Regions from separate parts of the Homo sapiens genome. Here all the other regions are linked to region 7. Evidence: promoter capture Hi-C in 16 types of primary human blood cells and fetal thymus (Javierre and others, 2016). All regions are on one chromosome and are shown on one strand. The core of a region is centred on a gene start or on the middle of the fragment in contact, and the rest is flanking DNA. Distances in the headings are between cores, read along the strand shown.

Evidence for each region. Contacts are between HindIII fragments. The CHiCAGO score rates a contact against its expected background, and 5 or more counts as called.
Region 1: a fragment that was not itself captured here is called in contact with the fragment with the promoter of DNASE2B in region 7 in 5 of 17 cell types (M0 macrophages, M1 macrophages, M2 macrophages and 2 more); the score reaches 9.8 in M0 macrophages.
Region 2: a contact is called between a fragment that was not itself captured here and the fragment with the promoter of DNASE2B in region 7, in 1 of 17 cell types (neutrophils). The highest score is 7.3, in neutrophils.
Region 3: a fragment that was not itself captured here is called in contact with the fragment with the promoter of DNASE2B in region 7 in 4 of 17 cell types (M2 macrophages, M0 macrophages, M1 macrophages and 1 more); the score reaches 9.1 in M2 macrophages.
Region 4: a contact is called between a fragment that was not itself captured here and the fragment with the promoter of DNASE2B in region 7, in 9 of 17 cell types (M2 macrophages, M0 macrophages, M1 macrophages and 6 more). The highest score is 13.0, in M2 macrophages.
Region 5: a fragment that was not itself captured here is called in contact with the fragment with the promoter of DNASE2B in region 7 in 2 of 17 cell types (M2 macrophages and M0 macrophages); the score reaches 5.9 in M2 macrophages.
Region 6: a contact is called between a fragment that was not itself captured here and the fragment with the promoter of DNASE2B in region 7, in 3 of 17 cell types (M0 macrophages, M2 macrophages and M1 macrophages). The highest score is 7.0, in M0 macrophages.

What each region holds. Positions count from the first base shown.
Region 1 is chr1:84,236,309-84,239,900 of GRCh38, forward strand. It overlaps PRKACB (protein kinase cAMP-activated catalytic subunit beta), which reads left to right. Exons shown (of 10, transcript NM_182948.4): 10 at 1-2,190. Among named protein-coding and RNA genes, the nearest start is that of SAMD13, 64 kb to the right of the region's middle. The HindIII fragment of the contact is 1,679 bases long and covers 1,254-2,932 here.
Region 2 is chr1:84,629,474-84,633,036 of GRCh38, forward strand. LINC01555 (long intergenic non-protein coding RNA 1555) reads right to left here. Exons shown (of 3, transcript NR_027379.1): 2 at 2,137-2,273; 3 at 1-1,414. It overlaps LOC124904206 (a long non-coding RNA gene), which reads left to right and starts at 1,003. Exons shown (of 5, transcript XR_007066196.1): 1 at 1,003-1,161; 2 at 1,244-1,381; 3 at 1,858-1,939. The HindIII fragment of the contact is 7,254 bases long and covers 1-3,563 here.
Region 3 is chr1:84,203,351-84,207,183 of GRCh38, forward strand. The region is part of intron 8 of PRKACB (protein kinase cAMP-activated catalytic subunit beta); the gene reads left to right. Among named protein-coding and RNA genes, the nearest start is that of PRKACB, 61 kb to the left of the region's middle. The HindIII fragment of the contact is 2,581 bases long and covers 583-3,163 here.
Region 4 is chr1:84,184,903-84,188,754 of GRCh38, forward strand. PRKACB (protein kinase cAMP-activated catalytic subunit beta) reads left to right here. Exons shown (of 10, transcript NM_182948.4): 5 at 198-280. Among named protein-coding and RNA genes, the nearest start is that of PRKACB, 43 kb to the left of the region's middle. The HindIII fragment of the contact is 1,202 bases long and covers 877-2,078 here.
Region 5 is chr1:84,262,158-84,266,132 of GRCh38, forward strand. No RefSeq gene overlaps it. Among named protein-coding and RNA genes, the nearest start is that of SAMD13, 38 kb to the right of the region's middle. The HindIII fragment of the contact is 2,870 bases long and covers 745-3,614 here.
Region 6 is chr1:84,164,036-84,167,694 of GRCh38, forward strand. The region is part of intron 1 of PRKACB (protein kinase cAMP-activated catalytic subunit beta); the gene reads left to right. Among named protein-coding and RNA genes, the nearest start is that of PRKACB, 22 kb to the left of the region's middle. RefSeq lists a silencer at 2,971-3,020. The HindIII fragment of the contact is 3,536 bases long and covers 532-3,659 here.
Region 7 is chr1:84,397,173-84,400,976 of GRCh38, forward strand. It overlaps DNASE2B (deoxyribonuclease 2 beta), which reads left to right and starts at 1,312. Exons shown (of 6, transcript NM_021233.3): 1 at 1,312-1,517. The coding sequence starts at 1,393. The HindIII fragment of the contact is 1,924 bases long and covers 176-2,099 here.

The sequences.
Region 1 (3,592 bases), core at 843-3,342, 160 kb before region 7:
TTGATTTTTGGAAACAATATAGAGGTATTCATATTTAAATGAGGGTTTACATTTGTTTTGTTTTGTAACCGTTAAAAAGAAGTTGTTTCCAGCTAATTATTGTGGTGTACTATATTTGTGAGCCTAGGGTAGGGGCACTGCTGCAACTTCTGCTTTCATCCCATGCCTCATCAATGAGGAAAGGGAACAAAGTGTATAAAACTGCCACAATTGTATTTTAATTTTGAGGTATGATATTTTCAGATATTTCATAATTTCTAACCTCTGTTCTCTCAGTAAACAGAATGTCTGATCGATCATGCAGATACAATGTTGGTATTTGAGAGGTTAGTTTTTTTCCTACACTTTTTTTTGCCAACTGACTTAACAACATTGCTGTCAGGTGGAAATTTCAAGCACTTTTGCACATTTAGTTCAGTGTTTGTTGAGAATCCATGGCTTAACCCACTTGTTTTGCTATTTTTTTCTTTGCTTTTAATTTTCCCCATCTGATTTTATCTCTGCGTTTCAGTGACCTACCTTAAAACAACACACGAGAAGAGTTAAACTGGGTTCATTTTAATGATCAATTTACCTGCATATAAAATTTATTTTTAATCAAGCTGATCTTAATGTATATAATCATTCTATTTGCTTTATTATCGGTGCAGGTAGGTCATTAACACCACTTCTTTTCATCTGTACCACACCCTGGTGAAACCTTTGAAGACATAAAAAAAACCTGTCTGAGATGTTCTTTCTACCAATCTATATGTCTTTCGGTTATCAAGTGTTTCTGCATGGTAATGTCATGTAAATGCTGATATTGATTTCACTGGTCCATCTATATTTAAAACGTGCAAGAAAAAAATAAAATACTCTGCTCTAGCAAGTTTTGTGTAACAAAGGCATATCGTCATGTTAATAAATTTAAAACATCATTCGTATAAAATATTTTAATTTTCTTGTATTTCATTTAGACCCAAGAACATGCTGACCAATGTGTTCTATATGTAAACTACAAATTCTATGGTAGCTTTGTTGTATATTATTGTAAAATTATTTTAATAAGTCATGGGGATGACAATTTGATTATTACAATTTAGTTTTCAGTAATCAAAAAGATTTCTATGAATTCTAAAAAATATTTTTTTCTATGAAATTACTAGTGCCCAGCTGTAGAATCTACCTTAGGTAGATGATCCCTAGACATACGTTGGTTTTGAGGGCTATTCAGCCATTCCATTTTACTCTCTATTTAAAGGCCGTGAGCAAGCTTGTCATGAGCAAATATGTCAAGGGAGTCAATTTCTGACCAATCAAGTACACTAAATTAGAATATTTTTAAAGTATGTAACATTCCCAGTTTCAGCCACAATTTAGCCAAGAATAAGATAAAAACTTGAATAAGAAGTAAGTAGCATAAATCAGTATTTAACCTAAAATTACATATTTGAAACAGAAGATATTATGTTATGCTCAGTAAATAATTAAGAGATGGCATTGTGTAAGAAGGAGCCCTAGACTGAAAGTCAAGACATCTGAATTTCAGGCTGGAAAACTATCAGTATGATCTCAGCCTCAGTTCTCTTGTCTGTAAAATGGAAGAACTGGATTAGGCAGTTTGTAAGATTCCTCCTAACTTTCACAGTCGATGACAAGATTGTCTTTTTATCTGATATTTTGAAGGGTATATTGCTTTGAAGTAAGTCTCAATAAGGCAATATATTTTAGGGCATCTTTCTTCTTATCTCTGACAGTGTTCTTAAAATTATTTGAATATCATAAGAGCCTTGGTGTCTGTCCTAATTCCTTTCTCACTCACCGATGCTGAATACCCAGTTGAATCAAACTGTCAACCTACCAAAAACGATATTGTGGCTTATGGGTATTGCTGTCTCATTCTTGGTATATTCTTGTGTTAACTGCCCATTGGCCTGAAAATACTCATTGTAAGCCTGAAAAAAAAAATCTTTCCCACTGTTTTTTCTGCTTGTTGTAAGAATCAAATGAAATAATGTATGTGAAAGCACCTTGTAAACTGTAACCTATCAATGTAAAATGTTAAGGTGTGTTGTTATTTCATTAATTACTTCTTTGTTTAGAATGGAATTTCCTATGCACTACTGTAGCTAGGAAATGCTGAAAACAACTGTGTTTTTTAATTAATCAATAACTGCAAAATTAAAGTACCTTCAATGGATAAGACAATTGATTGAGTCGTGAATTCTACTTGGTGCCCTCATCTCCTGATTTATTTTCCGCTGATACAAGAGATGCTTATAGATTCCTAGTTTTTATGTGTTTGGGTTGATTTCTGGGTGGTGGGAGCAGAGCACATTGGGGAGGAATATATCCGCCAGTCTACTCACACTGGATGTTTACTAAGAAACTGCTAGATTCATTTAATAGTTTCTCAAAAGTGTTTCTACTTCTTTCTCATTTCTCATATTGGTTCAGATTACTGCTAACATAATGTTCTAAATATTCATATTTAAAGGATTTGATTCTTCAAGAGCACTCATCCTTCTATTGTAACAATGAAATATTAATTTCTAATTTTTTCTTCAGGAGTGTTTTTGAGCTTCACATTACCTCTTTTCATTTTAGACAGGTTAATTAGTGTGTATTTCCATAGTTGTCTTTTACCTCAAGAAATAATCATTTCTTTAGGTAATTATTTTAATGGCTTGCCATTTTGTATGATTGTTCTTGCAAACATTTCTATTTATGCATTTTATAACATGGAGCTTACTATTTTTATACCAGTGCTCGCTTCATTTTATCATTATCAGGGCTTAATATAAATGCAGTTTTCTCATTTCCTTGTAAAACTAATTACAAAAATCTAGGTATGTCTTTACTGAAGAACTATCATCATTTGAAATCTATTTAGCTGTAAATTTTCTCTTGTGCACAAATACTGGATGTGAAGTTAAGTACTTTTCATTTAAGCTTTCCTGAAGATTTTCCATATGCTTATTTAATAGCCTTTATGCCTGTTGTTATGACCTGGATTGTGAACTGTGAACAAAATTCATACTGAAATTCTAACCACTAGTACCTCAGCATGTGATTGTTTTAGGAGGTAAGGCCTTTGAAGAGGTAATTAAAGTAAAATGAGGTCATATGGGAAGACTTCATCCAAGATGACTGATGTCCTCATAAGAAGCACACAGACAAAGGGAGGACCACGTAAAGACATAGGAAGAAGATGACCATCTATAGGGCAAGGACAGAGGCCTCCAAAGAAGCTGACTTTGCCAACATCTTGACTTGGGACTTCTAGACTCAAGAATTGTGAAAAATAAATTTCAGTTGTTTAAGCTGCCCAGTCTGTGATACTTCATCATGGCAGCCATAACAAACTATAATACACCCGCTGAGCTAAGTATTCTCATGGTGAAAGACTTGCATTGATTTCCCTTCATATGCTTTATACGTGGGCAAAACTGAATTTACCACAGGCAAAAAAAAAAATCAGTGTGGTCACAAACCTCAGTGCACCTGCTATCTTGTTTCTATTCTTCCTGGAATACAAGCAGGAAGTAGGAAACAGTAGCCACTGAGATACTGGGAGTAAGGGAAGGCATGAGTAACTCAAACCACTACT
Region 2 (3,563 bases), core at 202-2,701, 230 kb after region 7:
ACTAATCAGAATGCAGCTGCATCAACCAAACAGAACTAAGCAAATTTAAAGCCTTCATTTTCATAAAATGGACCTGATTGGCAACCTGAGCATGAACTTTTACTATAAAACCAGGATCCTCCCTTTGTTCTCTGGAAAGTAACTGGTTTACACAGAAAGTTTGTGAACTGTTCCTGAATGAAGTCTTTCTTCCAAATTTCTTTTCAGAGAACTTTTGTTCACAGATCCATGCCAGGGCAGCTATGCTTTTATTCGATTCACCCAATGGGGCACATGCCAGCTAAATTAGGCCCCTCCCCCGAAATCTAGCCCAAGATAATGAAATGTGGAGATTAACTTAAAATTAATTATGGGGCGGGGGCAGGTGTGGTGGCTCACACCTGTAATCCCAGCACTTTGTGGGATCCCAAAGGAGCCCAAGGCAAGCAGATTGCTTGAGCCCAGGAGCTTGAGACCAGCTTGAGCAACATAGTGAAACCCCCTCTCTACAAAGAATTTTTAAAAATTAGTTGGGCATAGTGGTTTGCGCCAGTGATCCCACTGGGGTGGTCCCAGGAAGCTGAGGTGGGAGGATCTCTTGAACCTGGGCTGGTTGAGGTTGCAGTGAGCCAAGATGGCACCACTGCACTACAGCTTGAGTGACAGAATGAGACCATGTCTCAAAACTAAAAATAAAATTAATTATGGGGGTAAAGATATCATCATATCAAACAGTAAACTCCATGAAAAGACTGAAATCAACCTGCTCCCCTGGCAAAACTCTAAATGACAGGCAGGAATAGTGGCGCGGTTTGTATTTTGTGAGCTCTGTCCTTTCTACTTCAAAAAGGATTTCCAGTGACAATAGATATGACTTAAAATACCAAAAGGATCAATATTCTAGAGAGTTGGCACATGAAATAGAGAGGGCTGACTTAAGAGGGCTGATTCTCGCTCCCTAATTAGTCCACACCCTTTGAGTGGGCCAATAGAATACAGCAAAGGTGATGGAATGGACGTGGTTATGTATGTGATGGACATGTCCATGATTGCCTGCACGGGATTGCATACATGAGATGGTAGGATGTGTCTTGTTGGAGTCTCTTGTTGCTGGCTTTGGCAAAGGAAGCAGAAATGCATGGACCACCTCTGTGGACATAGTCAAGTGGCAAGGAATTGCAGGTGACCTCTAGGATCTGAGGGCAGCTCCCCCACCCCGCCCCACAGCATAGCTAGAAATAAACTGAAGCCCTCCATTCTACAGCTGCAAAGAACCGAATTTTGCAAACAACCTAGGTGAGCTTGGAAGCAGGGTCTTTCCCACGGAGCCTCAGTGGAGACCACAGCCTGGGCTGACATCTTGATTGAAGCCTTGTGAGATCCCCCCAAGCAGGGGACCCAGGTAAGCTGTGTACAGGCTGCTGACCCACAGGAACTGTGAAATAATAATGTGTTACTATAAGCCTCCAAGTTTGTGGTAACTTGTTAATGTTGCAATAGAAAAGGAATATAGTGAGCTATGGGGAAATGAAAGCTCCAGAAAAGGTATAGGTGCATTGAGATAAACAGATGGTTAATTAAGTCAACATCACTGTGCTATAGGGAAACACAGTTTTGATTTTATCTTGGGGTCTTTGACTTTCTTCTCTGTGTTCACATAGCATTTTTTAACATGCTACTTCTCACATGGTAACTATTTTAGTGTCTGTTTCACCAAACTAAGTTTCTTAATAATAGCAACCTTAGCATGGAAAAGAGGATGGAATTTAATGACAACAAAAAAAATATTCCTATAAGTACTACTAGAAAATAAGTTGCTTTGGCTTAATGGAACTAAAGTGTTTTCCCTTTAAATATTCTTTCTGGGTCCACTCGTAGAGCTGTGAAGTCCATTACGAAAGCCTACGTACCTGCGGCTATTGAGGCCTTGAAATGTGGCTGGTCTGAACTGAGATGTGCTGTAAGTATAAAATATACACTGGATTTCAAAGATTGAGTATGAAAAAAATGTAAAATCAGTTGGTAATTTTACATTGATTATAGTTTGAAATGATAATAGTTTAGATAGATTGGGTTAGATAAAACCTATTATTAAAATGAATTCCACCTGTTTAATTTTACCTTTTTTAACATGGCTCATAAAAAGTGGAAACTTACCTATGTTGACAGTGTTGCGTGTCTAACAACAGGTGATCTAAATGGTCGGGTCCTGGCTGAGCCACAACTACAGTCACTTGGGCATTGGGACCCAGCATTTTCCATGGCAGGTCACCATCATGCCAGAAGAGCTGTTTCTGAAGCGAAGAAGCATCAATTCAATACAAATCCAGCAACAGCTGTCCATTCAACATCCCAACCTACATTTTTCTCTCTCAACCTTACATATGTTCTACCATGGTTTAGGTGGATACCAGAGTCCTGATCTTTCAGGTGTATTTCTGATCTTAAATATCAATTTTGCCCTATCATTCTGATGAAATACACATCTGATGAAATTTTTGAATAAGAACATATATGCTTACTTTTCTATGTCGTAGAGCATATTGGGTTTTTAATAATCTATAAATGAGTTAATTCTATTTTTTCTCTCTTTTTAGCTCCAGGCATTTTTTTAAAGTTTTAATTTTAAAAAGGCACAGAGAAACCTAGATTTTGGAGGCCCAATTCATATTGCATTTCTTGCAGAAAGCCTTTTTATACTAGTATAACCAGGAGATATTACACTCAAGCTGCTGTGAACAATTAACTTTCTGGCAGGTTACACATGACCATTATCACCGTCCTCTAAGGACCATAATGTCAAAAACAGTGGACTTCGGCCGCCAGCAGAAACTTGTTCTAGATATAACAGCTGCCCAGCACTACCGATTATGAGACACACCAATCAGAGCGTGGTTACTAAACAGCTGGGTACTGCTGGTGGTCTCTCCCCAGGCTCTCCAGGGAGCACTACAGGACTTCCCCACAGGCCCACATTCACCCAACATGGCCTTGAGCTGCCGAGGGACACCACCAATGATGGCAGTACAGACTCATCATTAGGAGTTTGCCAGGGGCCAGTTTTAGTTCTTCTCTTCCTAGGATAATTCACCCATTATCTAGAACTAACCTGATTAAAATAATGCTAGTGCCTCTGTCCATTTTCTTGATATTAATAATGGTAGGGATGAATAAACCTTCATGTCAATTAAATGTAGAAAACAGAAATGAATTCTTCCTGAGGTCCAGCTTAGTCATGTGTATGACAGTAAAAGATTTGCCTTCTAATAAGGGCAATATATTGAGTCCTACAATGTATCTCAACTCTGAAACTAATTTTCAATTAGGATATACTTCCCAATTTCCTGAAAAGCATGCATATGTCAGAAAGGTTCCCAGTATAAAAGTGTATTTTCCCAGATGGCTCATGATGGACCACATGCTCAGCTTGGAGAGAAAGAGGAAATTTACAAAAGCATAAAACGTGGTTCTGTTTTTCTCAGGGACCTTAGTTAAGGCAGAAAAATAAACTCATACAGCAACTGCAAATGAAAGAACTTCGTACCCACACACCCAAACACCAGGATTGGTGCATTAGTCTCCTA
Region 3 (3,833 bases), core at 623-3,122, 190 kb before region 7:
TTTCTTCAACATGAGTAGACTTACTGTGTTGTAGTATTTTACATTTTGTAAATTTCTTCATAAACCTTCCTTCTTTTGCACTTATAACCTCTAATTTGCTTTCAAGAGTGTTTTGTTTAGGGTCAGTCATTTGCTGTTGCCTTAGCTCAGACCTCGGATCTTTTTTTAAAAGACCATTGTCAATTCAATAGAAATGAGCTTGAATTTCCTACCATGCAGCAATGAAAGAATAGGCTTTTAAACATTCCCAGAAGGAGACCTTCTATACATTAATGACAAAATATATGGGAAGGGATATTTTGCTTATTTTCCCTTCTTTCTATTTCTACATGTGGTACTGCTTTGTCTTTTCTTTTCTTTCCCACATAGTCCCATTTAGAATATGATCAGGAAATAGAGCATCAATCTTTATCACATTAGCCTGAGATGTTATAGAGTTGAGGTTTTTTTGTTTTATTTTTTATTTGTTTGCTTTGTATTTTGTGACCTTCTTAGGCAGAGATAAGCCGGAAGGAGATAGTAGAGGGAAGGTCTTTATTTCTTTGTATCTCAGCCATATTCAAGCTCTACATTTAGTGTGAAAGCTTACCCTTGGCATCTATCAACTTACAATTTCCATTGTTAACTATTCACAAGGTACCCTGAATGTCTCTAATGTGGTAATTTATTTTTTTTGCCAACACTCAAATTTAAATCATAGATGCTGCACAGCTGGGCTGTAGCAACAAGACATTTGCCAATAGAATTAGTCTATCCAATCACCTAGAACATACATTTCAGCACAGTATTGTTCCCTATCTCATAGTACATATGCACTCTACCTGGGTCATGAGATTTTCCCTTGTATTTTGCCACGTTTTATGTAGAAAGTTTTATTTATTATCAGTATTCACAAATTAGGAGACTGACTAAAGAATTTATACTCCAACTATGTCAAAGGTAAAAAAATAAATACCTCTTACAGATAAATAAACCTAGCTAGGTGTTGAATGCTGTGCACTGATAAAGGCAATACAGAAAAGCAGAATGCAGTACTTATTTAAACAAGTATCAGTATCACTGCTGTTCTTCTTACATTTGTAGATCTCTGGCTTCAGACTTCTTATCTTTGTAATTGTTTTCTCCCAGCAGAACTTTTGATATGAACAAAACAAAACTTTGAGAAAAATTAACAGACAAGGCAGTGATTTATTTTTGAAGAATTTGAGAAGTGTAGACTCTCAAGAGGACTAAAGGTCATATGAAGAATGATGAGAGAACCAAAATACATTAAAATCACAAATGGAAGAAGAATATTTTACTAATACAAAAACTAAGAATGTAAATGTTATAATAATTGTTTCAAATCATTTAATTGACAGTAATTATAAAGTTCTTGAATCTTTACTATATTACTTTTATTTATATTCATATAAGAAATCCAATTTTCTAACAAGGATACTGTCATAACTAAATTTACATTTATTAAGAAAAACTGCTTTAGTTAAAATTAATGTGTCTTCATTTTTATGCATTGGCCTCGATTTGCCAATCATTCTCTATTGGTTAAATTTTATATTCAGCTGTTTATGAATATATATTCATTTTATATCAAACTTTAAAATTTTGTATCTAATAATCAGCATATATTCTAAAATCATAACAGTCTAAATCCTGGGCACCTTAGAAGAATGACACCAGAAAACCTTATTATATCACAATATTCTGTTTTCCCCTTCATTTATTTAGAAATATGACAGGATATTTGGTGTACTTTTGTTTTTTAACTAAAAGTACCAGATTATCTCTCCCCATGTGGGATATAAAATTATCCCCATCTCTTACTCCCTTTACTCATCTAAAGTAGAAGTCATGAAAGTGGAATTTTTGCCATTAAAAGGCTCTGTATTATGTGAAGTTAGATTGTATTAACCATTTCCCAATAAATCATCTGTTTCAAAACTCAAATTCAAACTAGAATGTGTCTCTATTCACATTGCAAAAATATTATTGTCTCTCTGGTTAGTGGCTAAAAGCCAAATTGGAAACTAACTAGTTTTTTAAATTTTTTAAATTGTGCAAATTATTAAAAATCCAATTTGGTCTTATATTTGTGGATCCTTATATTTATATTTGCATTTGAACTTTTAATGGTTTTAATGATATATCATTTAAGAATATGCTTTTCATTCAGAATTGTTTTTGTTGATTTTAGAAGCATATTATTTTATGAAACAGCATCTTATATTGATTATATCCACCATTCTGAAGTCACGTTATAAAGATTATAGGTATCAATGACTTATCAAAGTTAAATTTATTAATTAAGTGATAAATTCACTAAAGTACATATATATGAATATTAGATTGTAAAATACTTTCTCTATTACAATATTTTAACTCAAGCTGGTATTTTTAAATGCACACAAAGATGATCAATCAACTTGTTAGATTCTCTCCTACACATATTTTGCCTTTAAAAAAACAGAGGAGGTGGTATTTAAATGTCACATTATTCATGCAATGTTAAGGTTTGAGTCTACAAATTCATAGTTGAAAGAAAAGATTTATGATTCCTGCATTAACTATGCCTCATCCTAACAATACATATGCTGAGTTTCTGTATGTAGTCTTTAAATTTCATGTCTCAGTGTCATGTACTCCATGACAAGAATCAGTTATGGTCTCTATAGCACCTTTGTCTGGCTGCGTTACCCATGGAAATATAGAAAGTTTATATTGCAGTCAAAAATTATACTTGCAAATAAGGTACTCAAGTAACAGCTACTATGGAAACCATAACTTTAGAGCCCTTGGCTTATGTAATTTAAAAAAATTCTTAGCTTCAACATATCTAATGTAAATATTGTTCCACTCCTAATGAGTAACAATATATAAGGAGACATGCAACATAGAGAAGTATAAACATAAGTATATACTGAATGATCAAAGAGTTGGTTAATTTTTCCTGAAGGGAAATTCAATATTTACATGAAGGGTAATTGATTATCAGCCCAATTGCTATTCCTTTCTGTCTCAGGAGTCCCCAAGACTGTCTCCAGGTTTGATGATTCACCAGGAGGACTCAACAAGATTCAGCATACAGTGGTACTTGAGGCTAAGATTTATTACAACAAAAGGGTACAAAGTGAAGATAGCAAAAGTCCAGAAGACACCAGGCACAAGCTTTCAAGAGTCCTCTCCCAGGGCATTCACAAGGGATGCACATAATTCCTTCAGCAACAAGCTGTGACAAGCGTGAAATTTTATCTACCAGCAACACTCATTAAATACTCAATGCCCAAAGTTTTCATTGGGGGTTGGTCACATATGCACCCTCTGCCTAGCACATGCCAAAATCCCAGCCTCCCAGAACAAAAGTAGTTGTTCAGAATAAACTATGTTGTTTGTACCAACAGTGTAGGCACAGTGAGCCACTCTAATCCTTTAGGGAAAGTTTCATGTTGGTATAAGGGCACTGGTACTATTCAAGTTGCCAGACATCTCTCAAGGGCCAAACTTGTAAGCAGTTCTTTCTAAGGGTAGCAGTCTCAGGCCTACTATGTTAAGTCTTTTCTACACACATTCGGTTTCCTAAATAACATACACATATGCAGATATTCCACTATACTTTTTCTAAGATACTATTGTTAATGCTTTTGGGGAAATTACAATGTCATTTACTATTTTGCTATGGCCATAGTTAAAGAGACTTAGAAGTATTCAGAAATCATTTTCATAAAACACAAAAGCAGTTTTACTCTTTTCATAAAACCCAGGGCCAGTTTTAAACACTTCACTGTGGCTATTTAAAATTCTTATTAATACCTTCTTTCTGACAGCTCTTGTGGTCC
Region 4 (3,852 bases), core at 228-2,727, 210 kb before region 7:
GTGGCAAAAATAACTAGGAGGGGAAAAATATGAGTGTCTCTGTATAGAAAAGCTAGAGCATGTTCCATTTATTCTTTATTTCTCAAGGTTATTAATCTGTCAGAGAGATTTTAAATTTTTCTAATTCAGCATTATATAATATTAAAATAATTTTGACCTAAGTTGAATAATTGTATTTCCTTTTTATTTGTTCATAGGATAATTCTAATTTATACATGGTTATGGAATATGTCCCTGGGGGTGAAATGTTTTCACATCTAAGAAGAATTGGAAGGTTCAGGTAACTAATGGTTTTGCTTTCTTCAAATCTTTATATGCTTGTGTTGTTTAACCAGATTTTTAAGTTGATGCCAATGCCAAAAACTTATTTTGTTTGATTAATATTTTGGCCATATGAAGCATTAGGTGGAAACAAAGAGGCCACATCATACACAAGTTTTAATATAAAGAATATAAAAATTTAATATAAAAAAAGGACTTTGAAGCCAATTTAAATGTTATACTACTGCTAGATATTGTGAGGGTCCACTACTTGAAGAGTTTTCAGAAAATGGAAAAATTAATTGAATTTTAAAATATCAATATTTATTAAACAAAGATTAATAATACAACTCCAGGACAGAGGATTGTTTTAAGGATGAAGATGGAAAATAAATATATAGAGAAATAATAATAATAGTATTATGGTAATAAGATTATAAAAGTTTGTTTTTCACAAATTTAATTCTCCTTAAAGTTCTTGCTAAGTTTAGTTTTTAAAATATACACATAATTTAACGGGAGTTTGTACCTCATCAGGTTATGACTAATAAGATCTCAGAGTTATTAAAATAGGTTATAGAATCTGATGGTTTTACCTGTACTTAATAGTTTATAAGCTTCTACCGTTCATTAATAATCACTAATAGAATAAAGCTAAAATAAAAAACAGGTACAGCTTCATTCAGTATAGTGTGTTGAAGTCAAAATAAAAATGTAGAGACAAATCTCTAAATTCAACATTTTATTGAGGAAGCAAGAATTGCAGTTTGAGGCATATACACAGACTAGGTGGTCTTCAATGTGTCTAGAAAACAAAGAAAAGGTTGGAGGTTTTATAAAAAGAAATTTTATGTTTATTTGTTTTGAAACAAAGTTTACTAGCACTAGTTAAGTTTTGGGGAGCTGGCAAGCTCTGATTGGTGAGTGATGGTGGTGGGTCAGACTCGTCTAAGAGTCGCAGTAGGTTGTCTCAGTAGCTGTTAGAGAAAACTGGTTTCAGGTTACAATAGGCAGTTTCAGCAACTAGACTTGTGGAAAATATAATTTTTTTGTTTGTTTTTGGTTTTTTTTTTGAGACTGAGTCTCCCTCTGTTGCCCAGGCTGGAGTACAGCGGCACCATTTCGACTTACTGCAACCTCTGCCTCCTGGGTTCCAGTGATTCTCTTGCCTCAGCCACCCGAGTAGCTGGGACTAGAGGTGTCCGCCACCACATCCGGCTAATTTTTCTATTTTTGGTAGACACAGGTTTTCACCGTGTTGGCCAGGCTGGTCTCGAACTCCTGATCTCAAGTGATCCACCCTCCTTGGCCTCCCAAAGTGCTGGGATTACAGGTGTGAGCTACCACACCTGGCCTTAATTCTTGGAGCAGGTGCTGTGTGCCCTGAGTGCGTTATTCCCTGGCCCCTCGACTCTGATTTAGTTAGGTATGATGAGAATGACTAATTTGTATAATCAGCTTTCACATTTTTCCCTTTTGATCAAGATCTTTCTCTGAAAGCATTGCTTGTCAACCATCTTGAAGTTAGGCTTAATTATTCCTTGGTGCTCGGATGGACTTGTTCTGGTTGTCTCTGTCCCACATATGAGAGAAGTTATCTGTTGGGGGGTGTCTATGTAGGGACCTGGGCCACATTCAAGTAACGAGGAGGCCAGAAGGAAAATTTTTCTCAAAGTAGATTTTTGTCTGGAGTCCAGCCAGCATCGAGTTCCCACTTATCACTTCCATAGGTATTAGCAGTCATCTTTAAGTGTTGGGCTAACGTTATTCTGTTGGGACAGCTGCCTTTACAAAGATTAGATAGGCACTAAGAACAAAGCTTACAAATGATAGTACAAAAAAATTAACAATATAGTAAAATGTATTTGTGCAGTGCTTTTGAACTAAAGCCCAGGCCTAAGGGCAAAAAACTAAAGAAATCAAAGGACCAGGGGAAACTGGTGAGACCTGCTATAGCCATTGACTAACATTTTATGACTGGGTTGAACTAAAGCAGAGAATGCCAAACTTTGCAAGAGGGACCACCAGCACAAATTAAACAAAAAATTGTGTTAAGGATATTGTCGATGTTGTGACTAGATGAACTGAAAGAATTTCTTAAGTCAGGCTTTGTCAATGGCTTTAGCAGGTCTCACCAGTACCTATAGCAGTTACTGATTGTGAATTTTAAATTACAATATTATTTGGTTAAGTGAAAAAGCAGGCATTAAGAGGGGTAAGAGTTTCATTACAATATGGAGTCTTGTTCTAGTGTTTTGAGAAAAGCTGTTCACACCATGGAAAACATCAACTTTCTTGGCTTTGTTTACAGTGTAAATGTCTCTGGCTATGGCTTTGGGCAGTTTGATGAACTTTCTGTGTGGCCCATACATCAGGCATGAGACTTGTTTCTTAAAATTTATATAGTTTCAGCTAACAGGACTTCAGGAACAGAGCGGTTCTCATTTTAGTAATTTTATGGAAGAAAGTTCGATTGGAGGAACCTAGAAGAATTTAGGACCTTGTCTAGTCTATAGGTAGATAACAAGACTCAAAAATAATGTACAGACTTACAGTCTAATAACAGGTATATTATAGTTATTCTTTAGAAAAAACTTTTTTCTCTACATTGATTACATAGGAATCTTGGATTTAAAAACCTCTTGAGGCAAGGAAGCCGAACCAAGGCAGTCTTAGATTTTCCTTACAGTCTTGAGGTTCCTGGTCCTGCCAGGAAGTAACAGTTTTTATTTACTCATTGTAATGCTGAGAAACCCTTGAAGTCAGGCATTTTATGCACTTTTTAAATACGATAGTTCAGTTAGAGCCTTAGTAATATAATCAGTGTTTTCATATTCTGCTATAAAGAGAGAGCAGATTTTTACTGGACCTGTGCAAATAGTCATATTCCCATAAAAGTACTTACAACTAATTTTTGAATTAAGGAGAAAAAAAGCAAATGCTTTTATCTTTTTTTACAAAAATATACTTTACCAAATTGCTATAAATTATAAATAGCTAAAGAGATAAGTTTTTTTAAATCTGGAAACCAAAATATTTAAGAACTAACAATGTAACAATGTTTTAAATGAAAGTTATGAAAACATTATTTTTATCAATTATTTAATTTCATGTAATTTTTGTTCTGCTTGATCTTAATTAGTATTTTCATATACTCATCTTTTTTTATTAGGGTTCTGGAAATTTTTATTTAGTCTATTGATCTTAAAGTTATTAAAAACCTGTATTTAAGGGTACTTGTTGGGGTCTTTTCTATGAATCTGATTGTAAATAATTTTGAGAATTCAAAATATTAACTCTGGATGACAAAAATCTAGAATAGCCATGGGTAAAAATCTGATGAAAGTTTACAATTAACAAGTAAAATTAGTTATTTCTATTTTATCTAGCATTTTAAGACAATAACCAGAATTATGAATAACGTTAATTTCTCTGAATTTATATAATTTTTGAAACATTCATATGAACAACATAGCCATAAATGCAACTAAAAGATCTAGTATCACATCATTTATACAATCTCTTATATAATTTAAAAATAAATCTAATTATTTAATACGTCTACAAGATGAGATCTGTGTCTTCAAATGT
Region 5 (3,975 bases), core at 930-3,429, 130 kb before region 7:
GAAAATCATAGAGACAGAAAGTGGAATGGTGTTTGCTGTGGGGTAGGAGGGGAGCATGAAGAGTTGTTGTTTAGTGGTCTCGGAGTTTCAGTTTGGGAAGACGAAAAAGTTCTGGAGGTGGATGGTGGTGATGGTTGCACAATAATGTGAAATGTATACTTAAAAATGGTGAAAATGGTAAATTTTATGTGGCGTATATTTTATAATAATAAATAATTGACTTTCCCTTTTTTTTCTTGAAAAAGATAGAATAGGACTATGCAGTGACATTGGGTTTGACAATGTTGTTTCCATGACAACAAAGGAGGCATATGAACAAGGGCTCACATGAGCCCACATCTAAGCAGTAGATTACTATGTTATCCAAGAATAGATTACAATTCCACCCATAAGCAGTCAAATCCCAGAAGGATTAAAAGGACCTGTGCAGGCCAGAGACAGTGGCTCGTGCCTGTAATCCCAGCACTTTGGGAGGCCAAGGTAGGTGGATCACCTGAGCTCAGGAGTTCAACATGGAGAACACCATCTCTACTAAAATACAAAAATTAGCCAGGTATTGTGACACACGCCTGTAATCCCAGCTACTCCGGAGGCTGAGGCAGGAGAATCACTTGAACCTGGGAGGCAGAGGTTGCAGTGAGCTGAGATCGTGCCACTGCACTGCAGCCTGGGCGACAGAGTGAGACTCTGCCAAAAAAAGGAAAAAGAAAAGACCTGTGCAGTAAAGGGGAATACACATGACAAAGCTTGAGACTTCAATGTTATTTCTGGGGATGTGGGCTCCCCCACAAGGCTCAGAGGACTGGTAACTGGCCGGGTGCACACCTGGACCACACTGTATATCCTTGCATCCATGCGGTACATCATAACATCTGGATCACAGGTATAGCACACAGATATAGACAGGTAAGACCTCATATTTTCTGAGCAGGGAACACCCTCCTCCATGGGGGTGCTTTGTTTGGGCCTCGCTGCTCAGGTAGAACTCCACTTATCATACATGCTATGTCTCACTTGGGACCCAGGTCACCTGGAGAGCCAGAAATTCCTCCAACCAGAGCAAGAAACCCAGGAGCTGGCTGAGATCTCCCTGAAACACAGAGGTGGGCCTCACAGCAACAGGGCCAGGAGCCCACTGCAGCAGTGCTCGCAGGGGCATATTGCAGGAGCGGTCTTGGACTAAGCAGGACACGTCAGTTACCAAGAACGGTGTCTGAAAGAAGCATCAGATAAAAGAATAGGAGACAAACAGGCAAGGGATATGGAAGAAGGTAAAAGGATAAGGAAGAAGGAAGAAGTCTATTAGTTGGAATAGAGTTACTAAATGGGAAGAACTAATGAAATGATAAATTGGAGGGAGAAGATAAGAGTTAAACTAGAGGAAGTAGAGTCCAAATGAGGTGCTGGGGTTCCTATGGCTGCTTCTACGTGGACCTCAGAATCACAGAGCACCAGCCTGAGTATCCTGCCATCCGTGGGTGTGGGGTGCTTCCTCTCCCTGGGCCAGAGATGTCCCTAACAAGGGGGCGAATTCCAGACACATCACAGATTCCACTCTGAAATACACTTAGGAAATTCAGTTATCTGAAAACCTCTCAGACAATATCCATTTCACTAATATCATAAAATGACTTCTTCACAAGCAAAGTTAAAAATAGTAGAATTAAAAAGACAATTACAGAAAAGTTGGACAAGTTGTGCAAATAGAAAATTATTCCGAAGGTCTTGTCAAACCAATATTTGCTAAGGAGCTAATCCTAACGTTTAGTAGGTGCTGGCCATTCAGAACCTTGAAGGTTTCAGTGATTATGGCAGTGGAAGAATTTCAGACTGAAGGCTGAATTTGTCCACAAACTGACTTCCTTCTACCCCTGAGCTGATTTCTTATGGCTAACTATTAATTAATAGAATATGTGGTAATAATGTGCTGGCATGTCATATAAATCTTCATATATTCATCATTTGACTTTATTATTGTGGGCCTCCTGCGACGAAGATTCATTTCCAGTTAGGCAGTTTTTCCACAGTCTTTGCTATCCTTAGCCCATTTGCAGGAAGTTGTATAATATGTTTTTGTGATGTTACTACAAACAAGTATATTGACAGGCACCTAAGCATCTTATTAATTATAAGCCTAGACTACAGAAGTTTCATAATTTTATTTCTTTCATTTAATGTGCATTTCACTGAATGGAAAAGTTAAAGAAATAAAAAACATTATGTGTTAAAATTAGTTGAGAAAGAAAACTCAGTCGATGCATTTTTTAAGTTAACTTTAATGAAGTGCTAATGCCTTGAAACGTAAAGCCAGAACCAGAAATTCTGTTATGGCCCACAGGATACATGCAATAGGAAGAGTTGTGTCCCAAAAGTTGAATAACGCCTCATCCCAAACTTAGGACTCCCCCAAATACTGAGCTGCTTCATTTACCTAATCAACAAATACCTAAGGAAACATTAGATGGTTCCTGGATAAATCAACATAGAAAGATATCAGTGAAAGCCAGAAAATGAGTACCGATTGGGCCAGGCGCGGTGGCTCACGCCTGTAAAGCACTTTGGGAGACGGAGGTGGGTGGATCACCCGAGGTCAGGAGTTCGAGACCAGCCTGGCCAACATGGTGAAACCCTGCCTCTACTAAAAATACAAAAACAGCTGGGCATGGTGGTGCGTGCTTGTAATCCCAGCTACTCGGGAGGAGAATCACTTGAACCTGGATTCAAGTGAGGCGAGGTCGCGCCACTGCACTCCAGCCTGGGCGACAGAGTGAGACTCTGTCTAAAAAAAATAAAAGAAAGAAACAAAATGAGTACTGATTAGACAGCTAATATGTGCAGGGATTCCCAAGGCTCTGAGGATAGTGGGGTGGAGATGAGGAGGAAGGATGGTGGGCAGGAGGAGTGAGTCAGGGATGGAGCTGACTCCACAATGGACAGAGATGAAGCAAGGAGTTCTCTTGTGTCCAAAGTTATCTGGTGCAGCCAGTGGCTGAGCCTACTGTGCTCATCACTCACGTCCTCACTTCTCTAGTTTTAGGAAGCTCTGTTGCTTGGAAACGCACATAAAATGTGAAGTGGGAGTCTTGCAAACCAACCCACTATGCCCTGTTTTTATTACCTTTACAGCTTTTCAAGGTGAAAGTCTACATTTAGCCTCATCTTTTGCTTTCTCTGGGAAATTCTAGACAACTGCAGAGAAGCTGTAAAGCTGCTCTTGCCTCAGTGGGACCCTGTGCTTTCATACTCTGACCTACAGGAAGTCTGCAGTCCAGAGCCTGCATCTTCTTTAGGACAGTGAATAATCTGGGAGCCATTTATGAAGCGTGCATGACTATTATTCCCTTTATCGTCTCTTAAATTCCACAGTAGAACCTCGGATATGGGAACTTTTTTAAGAAATAGAGGTGTGTATATATATATATATATATATATATATATATATATATATATATAGTAATGACGGGTAGCTATTTCTAGACCAGTCTATCTGCTGTTGTGGGAACCTTCCCTAAAAAAAAAGACAGGATCTGTCGACATCTTTCATCTCTCCCCTCCCTTTTATCCCTTCTAGTGAAAAATGCTGCTGCGGTAAAACTCCCTTTGCATCAATCTTAAGCTTCAAAAGCCATCTTGCTAATGCAAGATGCTGGCATTTTTCTGTGACAAGAAAATGAACAATTTGCTAATTTTTTAAGTGAATGAAAGCATTTCCTCACATTTCTTCAGAAATAGCAAAAACAAGAAGAGAGTTTTAGGAAAAACACTGAAAACATTGCCAATATGTAGACATCTATATTTACCAGCAAGAGGGCATTTGACCCTTTTTTCACACCACTGCATATGTGGATTCATGACCTTGTTCCTGCTTTCTATTTGCTATCTCTCACACATCAGATCATAAACCATCACTCCACCCAAACCATGCTGGAAAGTTTCTCTAATTCTATAAAGCATACGATAGGTGGCTGCTCAATT
Region 6 (3,659 bases), core at 1,050-3,549, 230 kb before region 7:
GTGTATTATTTTCTTTTGAATACCACATGGATGGCATCTGACACTGTTTGTAATGCTGAATTTAATGGAAGTTTACAAATAAGTTATTCTATGATTCTCCTTTAAAAATGCAGATATACATATATGTATATAATATTATTCTCTTCCATAACACAGAATGTTTAAATGGTTAACATTTGTGCTGCAGTATAGCTTTCTGGCTCATGAAAAATGAAAGCTATCAGCGATCTCGGCAATAAGATTCATCGCCAATAGTCACTAGCAACAGCACACAGCATTTTAATATCAGTGAGGTCCACAGCTAGCAGTAAGAGCTGGTGTAATTGAAAGACGTTTAGGTGCAATCATTCTGCTGTTTGCTCCTTGCCAGGTTCAACATGGGATTGTGTGAGTATTTGAAGAAAACAGCAATTTTTTCATATCTTTGAAAGATGTAAAAAGCGTAGATTAGTGCTTAAATTTAAGAAATCTGGTAATTTATAATCATGTGGCTCTAAAATAAAAAGGTATTTTATTTGTCTGGTGGATTAAAGCTTTAGAAAAGCTACGCCTTGGATACAAGTGAACCGATAATTCTGGTCTAATGTTGCCGTGGTAACAACTCATGCTGATATAATTGAGAACATCTTATACATCCTGGTTCGAACATTTTCTCCCTGCCATTTTGAGTTGTTCTAGTGGTATATGAAGGAGGCTGGGATAACTAGCTTGAAAGAAATTCAGTCTAGTTATAGACATCTTTGGCATTAATCTGATGTTTACTAGTGATATCTCATGCTAGGCAGTTATGCTTTGCTTCTAGGGGCTTCTCTTTTTAAAACAAAAGAAAGCTCTTTTCGTTTTCTGTGTGCTGCATGCTCCAGTGTGTGTGTTTACACCATCGGTTCTTCTCCCTCTAGAGATTAGCATAACTCCCTTTGCTGTTGGATTGTTATTTTGAGCAATATGTTTTGGAAAGGTTGGTTTTCATCATGAGTGGTAAGTATGCTCTCTGAGACTCTGCAGCTGTTTATTTAAAAAATATATTTATAAGAGGAAAAAATATTTTTAAAGGGACAGTTATAAAGCCACAGCTACTGTGAATTATATTTTGTGGTGACGCTTTTGTACTTAGGCATTATAGTAAATTGCCTTCAAAAACCAGTAAGAACTGTAAACAATTAATGGCACTATTAATAATCAATACCAATAATCAGTTTCTAATTTTCTTTATGGTTCGATTTATTGTATTTGTTGGGCACTGTTATTAATTGTGTTATAAATTAGTAAGTAGACTAACCATAAGAGAGGATTTTCTTTTAGTATCTGATCCTGAAGATAATTAGTTTAACTTTCCTTTGATTAGCTTTGTCATTCCTAATGCTAATTTTTATTAGATTATTTTTATTAGATTTTTTAAATAGTAATTTTGAAAATAAGATGCTGCCAGAATTTTGTTGATGTCTTGGTTGCTTTTACCTACAATTTATTGAGAAATAAGGATTTAATGATGAAATAATTAGAGCATTTTGGTTTTGTAGGGTTTGTTAAAATTTTTAATAAACAGTTTTTGGGGGAAATAATTTTTTAGAATAAGTACACTTGTGACAACTAGTCTTTTTTGTTATAATGTGATTTATTTTTTCTAAATATTTCCAAAACTGTTTTTTTGAAAAAATATACTACAGTATGTACTGCAGTTTATCATAGGGTAAAAGCTGTCACTTCAAGCCAAACCTGCAGCTAAAAATAGATATCCTGTTGTTAGAGTGAAAAACATTTGCTTAGAGCATAATTCATTAGCATCTTTTGCTTAAATAAGATGCTTGGAAGTTAACCTTTGATTCAGATATTTTTAAGAGAAGTAGAATATGGTTTCTCTGATAACATAACAGTCCTATAATTTGCATTTATAAGATTTGGAATTGGAATTTAGAAACTGAAAGGTGGATTTTTGCTGTATAATGATAGAATTCAAAATTGACGAACCTTTTCTTTCATAACTGGAGATCACCTCATTATAACCAATAAATATTCTTTATCCTGCTACAGTACAATATAAACCTCTTAAACACTGTTATATATTTGTTTATAGAATAATATTAGATATTAAAGGGACATTTTAACATGCAAAATACTAAGAATTAACTGGATTGTTATTTTCCTGTTACTGAAATAGATCTGTTTTAAATAATCTGCTGTTTTAAATTTGAACGAATATTACAAAAACAACTTAACATTCCTTAGGATTTCTATGGATATCAAACTGAATATACCTGGTTGTCATACATATATTTATTTGAATCAGGCCAATGCATATTTTCTCTTTGAAAATTTGGCATATAATCTAGAATCTTTAGGTAACCACCATGGTGTTCTGGAGGTTTTACAACAGGATGGATTGGATTTAGCTGAAGGAAAATGTTATTGCTTCACTATTGCTTTATTTTTCTTTAAAAAGCTATGCATTGTAGATAGCATTTGATATATTTGATCATATTGGCTTTCCCTTCTAGCCATTTTATACCACAAATAATCATAGTAATCACAACTAGGTGTTCTGACTTTGTCGAGAATGCCCAATTTCAACTGATTTTAATCATGTCATAAATGGTTAAGTGTCCTAGCCATTTCAACTTGGAAAATTACAAGAGAAGTGTGGTTTTATTTGTAAAAATAAGCAAATGCTAGGCCTTTTAATCTAAGTCTGTAACTACACATGTGATATTTATGTGTACATGGTACTTTTCTCGTTATAAGACTATTCCTTTTATCCTTTGCCAATTAAATGTTGGTTTTCTCTGAGAATCTATCTTTTGGCCTTCTTTTGATGCTACATTTTCTCCAAAAAATCTCATCCATGCCTACATCTTCAGTCATTACCTGAACGTTCAGTTCAAAAGTGGATTTTCTTTTATCATCCCTAAATCTGCTCCATTTTCATTGACTCTGATATCTGTTAATGATCTCACTGCCCATACAGGAAGTGAAAACAGAAACCTTGGTCATTTCTAACTTGTTTCTTACCCTCAGACATGTACTCAGTCATTAAGTTCTATTGATTCTACATCAAAAATCACTCAATATTCTCCAGTCTTACTGACACTGGGATGGCTTCTAGATCTCTTCTCAATCCTATTATAATAACTGCATTACTGGTCTCCCAGCTTCCAGTTTTATATCCTTCCAGGCCATTTTCCACACTGAAAATTTTAAAATGCAAATATGCCCATTTTTTAAACTAACATGAAAACTTTCAGTTACTCCCTATTGCCTTTAAAATAAAAGTTAAACTCCTTATTAGGTCACATGCAATCAATGACTTACCTTTTTGGTTTTGTTTGCAAAATCTCTCTCACAAATTTTGATCTAGCCATACTATATTACATATAATTCCTTGCTACCTTTCCATATTTATAGTCTTTATCATAAAAATTTAGAGAACCAGTCATTACCTCCGACACTGACCCTGTGGAATTAGGTGATTTCTCTGTACTCCCAAAGCAAACTTACAAACTACAACAATTATTGTATTATATTGAAATTATAAATTTGTATGTCACTTTCTAATCTCTAAATGTTGAACTCAAGTCAAGGACAGTGCCTTATTCATTGTATGTTTCTAGTAGTCACCCCAGTACCCCAAACACAGCAAGGTACCCAATAAATACTTATAGAAT
Region 7 (3,804 bases), core at 62-2,561:
AACAAGAGCAAAACTTCATCTCAAAATAATAATAATAATAATACCAATGGAGGAATGGGTAAGAAAAATATTTCTTCATTTAACCTGCAGAAAGCTGTGAATCTACCAAATACAGCATAGTCTTGGCCTCAGGGCAGTGAGTTTCAAACTTTAGGGTACACCAGCATCACCAATAAGCTTATTAAAAATATAGATTCTTGAGCCCAACTGGAAGAATTCTGATGTAGCAGGTTTGGAATAAGTCCTAGAATTCTGCCTTTTTTGCAGGCACCACAGGTAATTGGGCAGGTGGTACAGAGTCCTCCTCCCAAAACTCTGTCTTAGGATAGAGACACAAGCCTTCCCCTTTTCTATGAATCCTGAGAATTGTGAACAGTTCTAGTGCAACCACAGAGGTAATCTGATTTACAAGGGTTCAGTTTGGTCTGGATCCTCTGATCTGGAACTATTATAGTTATCATTGTGATTATCAGAGAGACAGATTAGGGGCAGCATTATTTCCAGGCATGATGTAAACTGCTATTTATTATGATGGCAGCTTTAATAATTGATGCAAAAGTATGCATTAAAGAAATTATTTTCATATGTCTATCTACTCCTTCCCTGATTCACAAAGAAATTGGTCTCACCTTTTTATAGTTGTTATGGTAGTGGGCCATTTTATTTTGGTTTTCTACTTCAGATTCAGCTTCGAGAATGAGAAAGCATAGTTTGGGCAAAATAGATGTTTGTAACATTTTTTATTAACCTGAAGAGTGGGTGATCAATATGTTTACCTATTGCATAGCAGCCTGAAGCACCACATTGAGTGGCTAAAACCAGGAAGATGGAGAGAATATGTAAACATCTTTGGTAAAATACAGTTAAATTTACTGTTACTTTGAAGCAACCCTTTGAAGTATCCCTTAGCAACTGGTTCCTTAAGACAGAGATTATTAAGTGACAGATCCTAATTATTACTAAGACATAAGGTTTTATCATTTCTGTTTAATGTACGAACCACCTGCATTTGCTCTCATTCATTGAGTCAAACAGGAGAAGACATGAAATATATTTAACATCTACTTATTAAAATGAAGTCCCCCTGCCCAATGAATTTCATACAACAATGTTCACTCCAAAGAGTGAACTATCTTTCCCTATTTTTCTGCAGAACTTTTTGATGACTTTGCAAACCAGTCAACAATTCAGCACAAAGGCATCCAGAGTCACGCTGGCATGTTGTGACAGAATCGCACAATTACATGGGATCCATCCCACTCTGAAAATGCCCCGAACAGCGAACAGCACAGGTAAATCAAATCAAACGTCAGAGCCAGCACAGCCTGAGAGCGCCTTGAAACTCAGACTCCACAATCTATGGGGAAAGTGTCCTGCTGTGGCATGAAATAAATGAAACAGAAAATGATGGCAAGACTGCTAAGAACATCCTTTGCTTTGCTCTTCCTTGGCCTCTTTGGGGTGCTGGGGGCAGCAACAATTTCATGCAGAAATGAAGAAGGGAAAGCTGTGGACTGGTAGGTAAATGAAATGGAAGGACTGCTGCATGCAAACAGCCTCGGTACAGAGTTGGCCTGGCTCACTGCGAAGTTCCTAAGGGGAATGTCCATTCTCTTTCCTCCCTTTACAAATAAAGGAAGTTAAAGTGTGCAAATCGGCCAAACTCCCAGGCAGGGGTAGGCTTCTGAGTGACGGAGTTTCCCCCTGAAAAAGAGCTGAGCAGCCCCTCTTGGGCCTGATTCACTGTTCTCAGCGGGGCAAGGCTGGTAGCCACAGAAGTGGGATTGAGCTGACAGCTTCTGTGAGCTGGCAATTTCTTTTAATTACATCATGGCTTTTCCTAACAGAACACTTCCAACATCCTTTGAAAGACTGACAGAGTAAAGAAGGCAGATTATTTTTTTCTGAAAATGGAGCATGTGCTGCTCCTTATGAGAAAGAGAAGGGGGACCTGGTCACACACAGCACTGTTTGCCTAACATCGGTTTGTTTGGAAGCAGAGGCAGCTGTTGCCATGATTGGTACGTAGGCCACTGGCCTGTTGTACAGTGTCAAAGACATTAAATGCTGTGTTGCATTATAGTCATGGGTTCTCCTAAAGCTTTAACTACTTTTTCACCCTTTAATTGGGATATTTAGGTTTGCCATAATGGTTGGTGTCAAGCTTTTTGTGTAAACTTCAGGCTACAGAACACAGATATACTCAAGGCAGTAGTCAGTCTTTCCTCAGTTACTGAGCTCAACAGAGGTCTGTGTGGAGTTTTGAAAATATAAATATGAACGAAACATGGTTCCTACCCTCAAGGACCTCACAGTTATGTGGTAAGGGCATAGGTGGAACACTGGGGAACAGAGAGCCCAGAAAACTTCTCTAAGGATGTAATTTTTGAGCTAAGTTTTAAGAACAATTAAGAAGTAGCTGGAAAAAGAAGGGATGTGCAAGAGCATCTCAGGCCAATGAAGGAGCAATGAGGAGGTAGAGAGGCAAGAAGCAACATGGAAATTTGGGAGTTGCAAAGTAGTTTGGTATTGCTGGAACTTCAGGAGAATACAGGAAGATGACCGGAGGTGAGGTTAGAGAGGTGGGGACAGCCAAGGGGTCTGTGTGCTGAGCTACAAGGTTTGAACTTGACATTGAAAGGGAGCTATTGGAGGACTTCACGCAGGGGTGTGAATGGTCAGATTTGCACTTTAGGAAACCCATTGGCAGTACTATGAGGGCTGGATGGATGGGGAGCAGCCTAGAATCACTGAGACCAGGAGCACTTTTGCAGCATTACAGGTGAGAAGAGGTGTAGACCTGAGTTAAAGAAGCGGTCATGGAAATAGAAAGAAGGACATGCTGAGAAGACTTGGTGATGGATGGGCTGCAGCCAGTAGGAGAAAGGGAGATGTTAAGAAATAATTTTAGGTTGGCCAGGCGTGGTGGCTCACGCCTGTAAGCCCAGCACTTTAGGAGGCCTAGGCAGACAGATCACCTGAGGTCAGGAGTTCAAGACCAGCCTGACCAACATGGAGAAACCCCATCTTTACTAAAAATACAAAATTAGCCAGGCATGGTGACGCATGCCTGTAATCCCAGCTACATGGGAGGCTGAGGCAGGAGAATTGCTTGAACCCAGGAGGCGGAGGTTGTGGTGAACCAAGATCGTGCCATTGCACTCCAGCCTGAATAACAAGAATGAGACTCCGTCTCAAAAAAAAACAAAAAACAAAACAAGAAAGAAAAAGAAAGAAATAATTTTAGGCTTCTGCTTCTGAGACTGCATGAATATGTTCCCTAATAGTGTGGGATGAGCAGATTTGGAGCAAAATATTATAAATTTGGTTTCAAAAATACGGAGTTGGGGGTTAATGGGACATCTTTGAGTTTAGGTTTCTCTGGACCTCAGCAGAAAGGTCTGGGCTAGAAACAGACTGAGGACTCTTGAGTACATAATTAGAGACAGTCACCCAGGAAAAATGTTTAAAAGTACTAGCTCTCAACTGGTGTGCCACGGCACACTGATAGTTCACAAACCCTTCACTGGTGGGCCACCAAATTGTGATTGATATGGAAAATCATTTTTGCCACAAGTGAATGGACATATTACTTAGCAATGTCTGTTAGAGAGAATATAAGCAACTTGTTGCCAAGCTGCTAACATTTATTGAGAAAGGTAAGGAAAGAGACCATCAAGTCAGCACCAAAGAATAATTTCATGTTTCCTGCCACATGTGAGGACCTGACCCTGTAAGAAAGCATAAGCAGGGCAGGAAAGAGTTCACTTAAATTAAGTATAAGACCGAAGGGGACCAAGTGAA